2 separate regions of the Homo sapiens genome follow, and region 1 is linked to region 2. Evidence: promoter capture Hi-C in human tissues and cell types (Jung and others, 2019). All regions are on one chromosome and are shown on one strand. Each heading gives the region's core, a stretch centred on a gene start or on the middle of the fragment in contact. The rest is flanking DNA. Distances are from core to core; before and after follow the strand shown. Region 1 holds the start of MIR1183 (microRNA 1183). Region 2 holds the start of SP8 (Sp8 transcription factor).

Region 1 (5,169 bases), core at 1,349-3,848, 680 kb before region 2:
TGCCTCTACCAACCTAAATTGAGCTTTCCCTCCTTTCTCATCCTTCACACTGCTGCCAGAAAAATAAAAAAGTAGTGTTCTGATCATCTCACTTTCGTGCTCAATAACATTTAATCATTCTTCCACCGACCAAAGTCTGGCATTCAAAGCACTCTACCACAAGGACTTACTCAGCTCCTGGTTCACAGTCTTCCTTCTAATGACCAAATCTATTGTGCATTTTTTCAGTGACCATTACAGGACTGCTCTGCTGCATTTGACACCACTCGCCACTCCATCCTTATTCAATTTTGACTCTGTGAGCTAACTTCCTACATTTCAGAAACCCCTTCTTCTCTGTTAGCTCCTTTTTGTTTGGTTGCTTTTTTTTTTCTTTTTTTTTAAGAGATGGGGGTCTCACTCTGCTGTTCAGACCAGTCTTGAACTCCAGGGCTCAAGCAATTCTCCTGCCTTGGTCTCCCAAGTAGCTGAGATTACAGGCATGCACCACCATGCATGGCCTTAGCAATTTTTTAAAATCAGCACTTAAATCTAAATTTATGTCACTTTCTGAAAAGATTTATCAGCCAGGTGCAGTGGCTCACACCTGTAATCCCCGCACTTTGGGAGGCCGAGGCAGGAGGACTGCTTGAGCCCAGGAGTTCAAGACCAACCTAGGCAACGCAGTGAGATGCCATCTCTTAAAAAAATTAAAAAATTAGCCAGGCATGGTGGCATGTGCCTGTAGTCCTGGCTACTCATGAGAATGAGGTGCTGAGGTGAGAGGATCACTTGAGCCCTGGGGATCAAGACTTCAGTGAGCCGTGATGGCACCACTGTACTTCAACTTCAGCCTGGGTGACAGAGAAAGTCCCTCTCAAAAACAAACAAACAAACAAACAATCAAACAAAATACACCCTCTACTCTTCCTAGGCCACTCTCCAGGGTTCTGACTTCTCATTCTAACTCTCTTCTTGGGGGACCTCATCTACTTTCATAACTTTTACTGCTATGTGTAAGCTGATTAACTCACAGATCTGTGCCTTCCACTCAGAAGTGTCATACTCTTACTATCAACTGCCAGTGAACACTTCCACCTGAATCCTCACAAGCAATCTAAGAACCAGATAGCTTAGCCCACTTTCCTAATATAGCTCTTTTTCACCATTCAAATAGAAAATTTGGAAGTCATTCTTGATTCCTCTCTATCTCCTTCACCCTGACAACAAGAGCAACTATTGTTTTATATCTACTATGTGGTAAGGCACTTTACTGGATGTTTTCCATATATTGTTTCACATCCCTATGGGCTAAATATTACTGTCCCAAATTTTTATTTTTAATAAATGGAGTCTTGCTCTCTTGCCCAGGCTAGAGTACAGCGGCACAATCATGGCTTACTGTAGCCTCTAACTCTTGGACTCAAGCAATCCTCCTGCCTCAGCCTCCTGAGTAGTTGGGACTACAGATGCATGCCACCACACCTAGTTAATTTTTAAAATTCTTTTAGAGATTATGTCTCACTATGTTGCCCACGCTACACTCAAACTCCTGACCTCAAGTGATCCTCCTGCCTCAGCCTCCCAAGTAGCTGGGACTATAGGCACAAGCCATGGCACCCAGCTTACTGTCCCAATTAAGATGAGAAAACTAAGGTTCTCAGGGGTATGTAAAACATCCAAGATCCTAAAATGGAAAAGTGACAGAGCTGGGATTTGAACCCACACTTATCCAACTCAAAAAGCTATTCTCTTTCCACCATATACATTATCTATGTTGATCATAAGTCCCTGTTAAGTCTACCTCTTCAAAATATCTCAAATGTCTCCATTTTCACCATACCTATTGCTTGTACACTAGTGCAAGCCCTTATCACCAGTTTTGCCCCTTCTAATATTCATATTGCAGACCTAGCTCCCCAAAAAGCCAATGGGCCCTCCATACATTCACAATAAGGTCAGTATTTCTTAGCATAGTACATAAAGTTCTTCATGATCTAACTCCTGCTTAGTTTTATAACTTCATCTCTTGGCACTCCTGCTCCATGCCCACTCTCACCATCACCTACAGTGAACTCCTGTCTTCTCTAATGTTCTGTGTCTCCGAGCATTTGAATAATATAGCTGGAATCCAACACATTCTCCCACCCCAAACCTCCATCTCCCTTGGTCTGACAAAAGTCTATTCATCTTACAGATTTTAGTCTTTAATCCTTCTTACCAATGAAACTGCTTTGTAAAATAATTTTTTTAATAACTCAAAATTTCTTGGTATTGTAACTACACATTATGGTGAAACAGACTGAGGATGGCCGTTCTTTTATTTTTCTTCCACATTACCAGAGGTAAAACATTCCAAGGCTGCTTGGAGCAGCCAAGCCATCTTTCTTATTCCTTTTTTGTTCTGCTTTTTTTTTTTTTTTTTTTTCCAAATATAGAAACTGGGCCAAGGTAATGGAGGGGGACAGTTTGTTGGTAGGTAGTAAGACATCTGAATTGCTAACTATTCAACAAGATCTAGCTTGTTGGACATTTCTTGCTCATTTTCTTTTAGTACCAGTAGTTTTTTGCCTTAGTAGAGTAGTAAAATTTGAGACGACTTGAATTTAAGCTAACACGTAGAAAGGAAAGTCAGGTTTAGCTGGTAAAGGAAAAAGGCATATTCCATATAGAATAACCTAGTTCTCTGGATTGTGAGGCAGGGGCCTATGCCTAAGCCAACAAATTCTAACTTGAATTTTGGTATACCTAGCTCCCTAAGGGATCTCAAGAATTGGTTGAATTAGAATTTAAGTATTTCTGGTCTTACTAGTAAGACACCATCTCACTCCATCATAATATTAGTCATAAATTATTTCCAACAAAAGCTGCTCAAGAAAGAGGCCATCTGTGTGGTTTTTATGTCATTTGTCCTTTGGCTACCAAGGTTCCTGACACACTGAAAGTACTTAATGAATGTTTCTTAAATAAAGCGAATGATAATCTAAAATCTATACAAACATAGAAGCTTTCTTACGAAACTCGGCCAGCAGTATATCACAGGGCTGCTAAATGACAGCTAGTTTACAATACACATGCACATGGGTGACAAGACAGTAAGAAACCAAATCAAGTGGATATCTGCTACACTTCCTCCCTGACTCACTGATATGGCAGTCAGATCATTTAGAAGCAGATCCCAGAGCATAACTCTCAACCTTGGTTCTGAAACTATGTACTACTCTCTCAGGTATCAGATTTCTCCTATGACATTTGCTATCTACATTCAGCAAGGTGTTTTTTTTTTGAAAAGAGTATTATAAAAATATTAACTCTAAAAAATTATAGGCCCAGCATGGTGGCTCATGACTGTAATTGCAGCACTTTGGGAGGCCGAGGTAGGTGGATCACAAGGTCAGGAGTTTGAGACCAACTAGTCCTAGCCTGGCCAATATGGTGAAATCTTGTCTCTACTAAAAATACAAAAAAATTAGCCGGGTGTGGTGGCGGGCACCTGTAGTCCCAGCTACTTGGTAGGCTGAGGCAAGAGAATCACTTGGATCCGGGAGGCGGAGGTTGCAGTGAGTGGAGATCTCACCACTGCACTCCAGCCTGGGCGACAGAGCAAGACTCCGTCTCAAAAAAAAAAAAAAAAAAATTATAACTAAACTTGCCATTTAGGGAATAGGCTAAGATTTCTCCCTTTCTACCTATTTTGATGAAAATAAATAGTTTAGTATTACAAACACATACACTTTAAGTTTCTTTTTCTTCTGATTTTAAGAACAAAGCATGCTCACCATAGAAAACTATGAATGAGGAAATGAAATCATCCAGAAAGTAATTACCCATAGATTACCACTATTATCATTTTGATGTGATGATCTAAGTTCTGTTTTAATCTTTGTTCAATGTATTTTGATGCTGATACAACTTTACTATATAAAAATTCTGTATTATCCTCTTTTACTTATTTAGTAATATAAGTACTTCTAAGTTATTAATATTACAAATTATTTTAATAGTTGTGCAATATTTCATCATATACCATAATTTACAAAGCCATTACTGTACTGTTAGATATTTATTTCCAAATACTTATTATAAGTAACATAAAGTAATGAGCAACTTGAACTAAAATATTGTTTATTATTTCCAAGGGATAGTCCTAGAAGTGAGATTACTAAATCAAAGGACATGAAACATTTGTAAGACTATCTAGATTATAAAATTACAGGAGTATATATAAAGAGCTGCATTCATTTACATTTCCACCAGAAGTATGGGAGAATGCTGTTTCATCTCATGGAGCATGAGAAATTCAGTAAAATGTATAAAATCATTTAATAAACAAAAAATTGGATATCTCACTGTAGTTTCTAATAGAAGTGATTACTGCTCTCACCTCTAATACTGTACATTTCCTTAAGGTCTAAGCCAATGTAGTAAGGCAAGAAATAACAGATCTATATAAGAAATAAAGACTTAAAAGGAAGTAACGAAACTGTCATGATTTACAAAAGATATAATTATATTACTTAGAAAACTATAGAAAAATCAACAAATTATTATAATATGACATCTGTACATCAGCGAGATGGCCAAATACAAGAGCAACATAAAAAAGCAACAGTTCCCAACCATATCAGCAACAAACAATTGAAAAAGAAAAAAAAAAAATTCCATTCATAATAGCAACAATAACCACAAATATCTGAGAAATCAATCTAATTAGTAATATGCAAGATCTTGAGGAAGATTTAATAAAGGATATAAAACAAGACCTCAAAAGAGAGAAATATATGTTCTTGGATAGGAAGAATCATTAAACTAAATGTGTCAATTCTTCCAAAATTATTCTAGGAAGTGAATGCAATCACAAATTTAATTCGAAACTTTTCCATGAAAGTCTGCTAATTTGACATGTGAAAAATCAGCTAAGAAAAGTCTGAAAAAGCAGAATAGTAGAATAAAGATATGTAGGTAGCTACAGTAATTAAAATAAGGTGCTGTTAGCTTAGGAATAGGGACAGAAATGAACACAATTTAAAACAGATGCGTGTGTGTACACAAAATAATCCAACTGTGCCTTATTTCTTCTTTTGGAAAAGACGATTTGCAAGGTTTTTTCTTATAGTAAATAGTAAGTAACATTACTCTGTAAGTAAGACAGATCCGCAAATTTGAAAAACAAAACTATTTATCTATCTA
Region 2 (5,519 bases), core at 47-2,546:
AATGTCCAAGATTTGTCAAAAGCTCCTCTCTATTCTTAGATAAATAGAACCCATATATTTCGATCAAAGTCCTGATTCTTTTCTCAGAAAGAGGCAGTGAGGTTTTCTGTGAAAATTTCTAAATTCCGTAAAACGCTCTTCAATTTCTTACCCAAAGAAAAAACGACCCTCGCTTACTCTCTTCTCTATCTAATCCTTTTGTATTGAAATTTACTCAACACCACGGGACACACACACCTCCTCCCCTAGAGTGAGACGTGCACTTCTAAAGCAGAATTCCACCTCAGGGAAAAAAAAAAAAAAAAAAAAAAAAAAAGCCACGGCATCAAAGAAACAACTCATGGGCGCGCAGGCGCGCATCCACGTCCCAACGCATCCCTAAAAATAACCCTTAGCCTCTCAACCTTTCTACTATTTCGTTGGAGAGCCGGGAAAGAAAAGGTGGGTTTAAAGATCTTCTTCAAAAATGTAGTGACGCTGTTTACCAAGTTAAGAAAAAAAAATCACTCAAGATTTTAGGTACAAGGAGCCAAAGGAAGTTGGCGACAGGGGCAGCGTTTGTGAATATTTATTCACTCAGCCTCCATCAACTTAGTCGGTTTCTCTCTTCAGCTCGACAGTCTCTCTCTTACAAACACACACTTTATTGCATTGTTCCCATTCCCCACTACCAGCTTTGGTGCGCGCACACAACACAAGCGCCCACACACACCCTTCCCTCTTCTCTGTCGCACAAATACACATGTTCACAGCCCTCCTTCTCCCCCAACACCAAACACACTCACCCCCCACCCAGTTGAGTCCCTCTTCCCTCCCTAGGTTTGTCAGTTACACTACCGTACACTCACACCCTTCCCAACACTTAACTGCTCTGTCCCTCTACCCCGCTTTGTCGCACACGCAGTTATCTTATCACACAACCCTCCCTTTTCTGCACTCTCTCCACTCCCCGCCTTTACCACACTGTCACTGTTACGGTGTCACACCCCCATCCCCCCTCCCTCCAGTCTCCGCACTGTCCTCTCCTACGCCTGGTCACACTCGCACACAGTTACATTGTTACACACACACTCATACACGCGAGCGCGCGCTTTGCGCTTTGTAACACACGCAGCCGCCCCCGCCCCCTCCGCTCCCACTCCCCCTTCCACCACGGCGGCAGGCGGCGGCGCCGATGACCTCACGGCGCGCGCGCCGCGCGGCCCGGCGAGGCCGCAGATTGGCTGGCCGCGCCTCCGCGGCACTTCAAAGCCGGAGAGGGAGCTACAATTGTGGTGGAATGGGCGGAACTGATCATTGTATTGCACACCTCTAAAAAAAACACTGCCTCTGATTTATCAATATAAAAAAGATCCTCTGAGAGGAGGAGGGCACTTTTGTGTGATGGCAACTTCACTTCTAGGGGTGAGTCTCAGGATTTTCTCTTGCTGGTTTAATTAGTTTCCTTTTATTGCCGATTGGAGGGGGTTAAAGTCGCCCCGGCCAGGCCACGGGCTATCAGTCTCTCTATTGAGAGCTTTTTTTTTTTTTCTTTAAATACAAGTGAGTTTGGAGAAAAGAAAAAGGGGGAGAAGGGGGCAGAGTCACTTTTTTTCAGCGCAGGAAAAGGTTCGAAGGGCATTTAGACAAGCCACCGCGCAGCGCCTCGCTGCTCCCTGCCCGGGAGACCTGCGTCCAGCCCATTTTACAGGCACCGATTTCGGGGGTAAAGAGAGCAAGTTTTTCCTTCTGGGCAAAGTGCAGATTCTTCCCCTAACCCTTAAAAAAAAATTCTGCAGCCCGCCTTGTCTCGCAGGTACGTTGAACTCGTCTCGTTTTTACTACTGTAGATATGCTTTTAAAAAAAGAAAGAAAGAAAAGCAGGAAGAAAGAGTGAGCCCTACAGTTTGATTTCTTTTGGCCTGGGAGAAACAACCCAGGATGGGTTTCTGGGGACCCGAACAGGTTTTTCAAAGCTCTCCGGATTACAGGGAAGCGCTCTTAAAAGCAATCCAATGGTTTTCCCCCAGGCTTCTCGGCAAAGAAAACTTCCTTCCTCTCCAATCTGGACTTTTTGCTTGTTTGTTACGAAGTGTCTGGGGCTTTGTGTGCAAGAGAGTGTTGTTTTAGGTGAGAATACTTGTCAAACTCTTCTTTAGCGTGGTGCTTGCTCCCGAATCAGACGCCGGCAGCCAAACTTGTCCCCTCCTGTAGAGTAGGAAGCGGCCGGGCGCCGGGGCTGTTGGGGGTGCCAGGTGAGTTGGTGGCGGCGCGCCGCAGCGAGAGATGGGGTGCAGTGGGGCGCTTTGGAGGCTACCGAAGGACTGATGCACATTTCTTCCTTTCCTCCCCCACCGGCCCTTTGCCCACCTCCCCTCCCCCACTCCTTCTCCTCTCCTCCTCGCAGGAAGAACCGAGGTTGGGATCGACTCCTCTGGCCATGCTTGCCGCTACCTGTAATAAGATAGGCAGCCCCAGCCCGTCTCCCTCCTCCCTCTCGGACAGCTCTTCTTCCTTCGGCAAAGGCTTCCACCCCTGGAAACGCTCCTCGTCCTCTTCTTCCGCCAGCTGCAACGTAGTGGGTTCCAGTCTCTCAAGCTTCGGCGTGTCCGGGGCCTCCAGGAACGGCGGCTCGTCCTCGGCGGCTGCGGCGGCCGCGGCAGCAGCCGCGGCTGCCGCGGCCCTGGTGTCCGACTCGTTCAGCTGCGGCGGCTCGCCTGGCTCCAGCGCCTTCTCCCTCACCTCCAGCAGCGCCGCAGCCGCCGCCGCCGCCGCCGCAGCCGCCGCCTCCAGCTCGCCCTTCGCCAACGACTACTCTGTTTTCCAGGCCCCCGGAGTTTCCGGGGGCAGCGGCGGCGGCGGCGGGGGCGGCGGCGGCGGCTCCTCCGCGCACTCGCAGGACGGCTCCCACCAGCCGGTGTTCATCTCCAAGGTGCACACCTCTGTGGACGGGCTGCAGGGCATCTACCCGCGGGTGGGCATGGCGCACCCGTACGAGTCGTGGTTTAAGCCCTCGCACCCGGGCCTGGGTGCTGCGGGCGAGGTGGGCTCGGCCGGCGCCTCCAGCTGGTGGGACGTGGGGGCCGGCTGGATCGACGTGCAGAACCCGAACAGCGCGGCTGCGCTGCCCGGCTCGCTGCACCCTGCCGCCGGGGGGCTCCAAACCTCGCTGCACTCGCCGCTCGGAGGCTACAACTCGGATTACTCGGGCCTGAGTCACTCGGCCTTCAGCAGCGGCGCCTCCTCGCACCTGCTCAGCCCCGCCGGGCAGCACCTCATGGACGGCTTCAAGCCAGTGCTACCCGGCTCCTACCCGGACTCGGCCCCGTCGCCGCTGGCCGGCGCGGGGGGCTCCATGTTGAGCGCTGGGCCTTCGGCGCCGCTGGGGGGCTCCCCGCGCTCCTCAGCTCGCCGCTACTCCGGCCGCGCCACCTGCGACTGCCCCAACTGCCAGGAGGCAGAGCGGCTGGGCCCTGCCGGGGCGAGCTTGCGGCGCAAGGGCCTGCACAGCTGCCACATCCCGGGCTGCGGCAAGGTGTACGGCAAGACTTCGCACCTCAAGGCGCACCTGCGCTGGCACACGGGCGAGCGGCCCTTCGTGTGCAACTGGCTTTTCTGCGGCAAGCGCTTCACGCGCTCCGACGAGCTGCAGCGGCACCTGCGGACCCACACCGGCGAGAAGCGCTTCGCCTGTCCAGTTTGCAACAAGCGCTTCATGCGCAGCGACCACCTCAGCAAGCACGTGAAGACGCACAGTGGCGGCGGCGGCGGCGGCGGCTCGGCGGGCTCGGGCAGCGGCGGCAAGAAGGGCAGCGACACCGACAGCGAGCACAGCGCCGCGGGCAGCCCGCCCTGCCACTCCCCAGAGCTGCTGCAGCCCCCCGAGCCCGGGCACCGCAACGGCCTAGAGTGACGCCCACCCTGCGCCCGCCCCTCTCCCCGACCTCCTCCCACCAAGTCCTCTTGGGCCCTGTCTGTCCGGACTTCAACTCCAGCCTTTCCCTATTGCATCCGACTCGCTCTCTGTCTCTTTCTGTTTCTGCCCCTCTTCCTTCTTCCTTCTGTGACTTAACTTTGTAAAGGGGATATGGACAAGTAAGTAACACGCATCGCTGTCCCGGGCCCTGGCTTTCCCTTTCCACGGGTAACGCTGCCTGAACCCGTTGCAGCCGGAACCCGCGCCTCGTCGGGCCTTTATTTCTCGTTCTCTCTTCCTTGTCCTCCCCTCCTCCACCCCCCAGGTTGTGAAGGGCGTAACTTTTAGAGGGAACGGCCACTGGAGGTAGAGCTGGACTAATCCAGTGCCTGGTAGACAGCGGGCCTCGCGCGGGCAGGAGCGGCTCGGCTGACAAGCCTGAGCGGAGCGGTGGAGAGGGAGAGGCTGGAGGCCTGGGCAGAACAGCGCCGCCCGGGCAGACGGCTGCTTGGTTCCAGAGCCGCTGTACTGAGCACCTCGGCTTCGGAGCACCCTGCCAGGCCCCTGGGCATCGCCGGACGTCCTACTCAGGCTGTCGGGGCTTGGTGGGGGTGACTTTTGGCAGCCCGAGACCCAGAGTTTGTAGAGTTTAGATCTCCCAATGTCAGTCTGCCTCTTTTTCTTTGTTCCCTGAGGTGGAACCGATGCAAGTTTCAGCAAAGGGCAGTCTTGTCGAATCGCTGCAGCAGCTTTCTTTCATCTTTATAGCATATATTTTATTTTTAAAAAAACTAGGGGGAAAATAGCAACCTTCCATTTGGTTTCCCTTCTATAATAGTTTTTTCCTCTAACGGGGAGCAATCTTTCTCTCGAAACTGCTAATATTGATCCCAAAGTTACTTTGACTGCATTAACTTAACTTACGGGGTGGGGGCGGGGGTGAGGGTAGGTGCTTTTTTCTTATGCAAAAATACTCCTTTCCGGTGAGACCAGATTAACTATCTCCATGTTTGTCCTTTTCTACCTCGTTTTTTCACCACTCCCAAACATAACCTCCCAATCTTTTTTGTTAGTCCGGCCGTCAATTGTATAGTACCAATTTCGTAAATTCTCTCAATTCATGAAGATCGTAGGGTTAAACTTTTTTGTGTGTGATTTAAACTTACAAACAAGTGAAGAAGCTATCGTTTATTTCAGACGAGGCTGTAGTTTAAATACCAAAAGAGGGAAAATAAAAAAGAACCTTTGTAAAATATATCTGAACCTAATGGTTTGTACAACTGGAGAATCGTTCTAGATTAGTTACCAATTAAATATAACTCCGCCAGTGTAAGGGTGTGAGGTGCAGTTGTCCAGGAGACGATTTTGTATAGTATTTTTCTTGTACATTACTTCCAGTAAATATTTGAAAATATATTGAAGTAAACTTGATTTTTTTTTTTTGTCACAAGAAAATATTAAGAGTTATTGTTGCAGTTCTGATGAGCTGCAGGTTTTTTGAACTCACTTCTGGAGGTGCAGAGCCACAAACGCACTTTCGGGGCCTAGTTTTGCTCGAATATGAATTTAGATAGGTATCAAGCTGTAACTAAGACAATATTTGATAAATGTTGGATGACATTTA

What was found. The method cuts DNA at HindIII sites, captures the fragments that hold promoters and counts their contacts. A contact is called where the count stands out against the background at its distance.
Region 1: a fragment that was not itself captured here is called in contact with the fragment with the promoter of SP8 in region 2 in 2 of the 25 tissues and cell types used here (H1 embryonic stem cells and heart left ventricle).

The regions. Positions count from the first base shown.
Region 1 is chr7:21,467,988-21,473,156 of GRCh38, reverse strand. The region is part of intron 3 of SP4 (Sp4 transcription factor); the gene reads right to left. It overlaps MIR1183 (microRNA 1183), which reads right to left and starts at 2,099; the gene lies at 2,011-2,099. The HindIII fragment of the contact is 5,755 bases long and covers 1-5,169 here.
Region 2 is chr7:20,782,663-20,788,181 of GRCh38, reverse strand. It overlaps SP8 (Sp8 transcription factor), which reads left to right and starts at 1,296. Exons shown (of 2, transcript NM_182700.6): 1 at 1,296-1,404; 2 at 2,387-5,519. The coding sequence starts at 1,384. The coding sequence ends at 3,892. RefSeq lists an enhancer at 4,258-4,918. The HindIII fragment of the contact is 9,980 bases long and covers 1-4,473 here.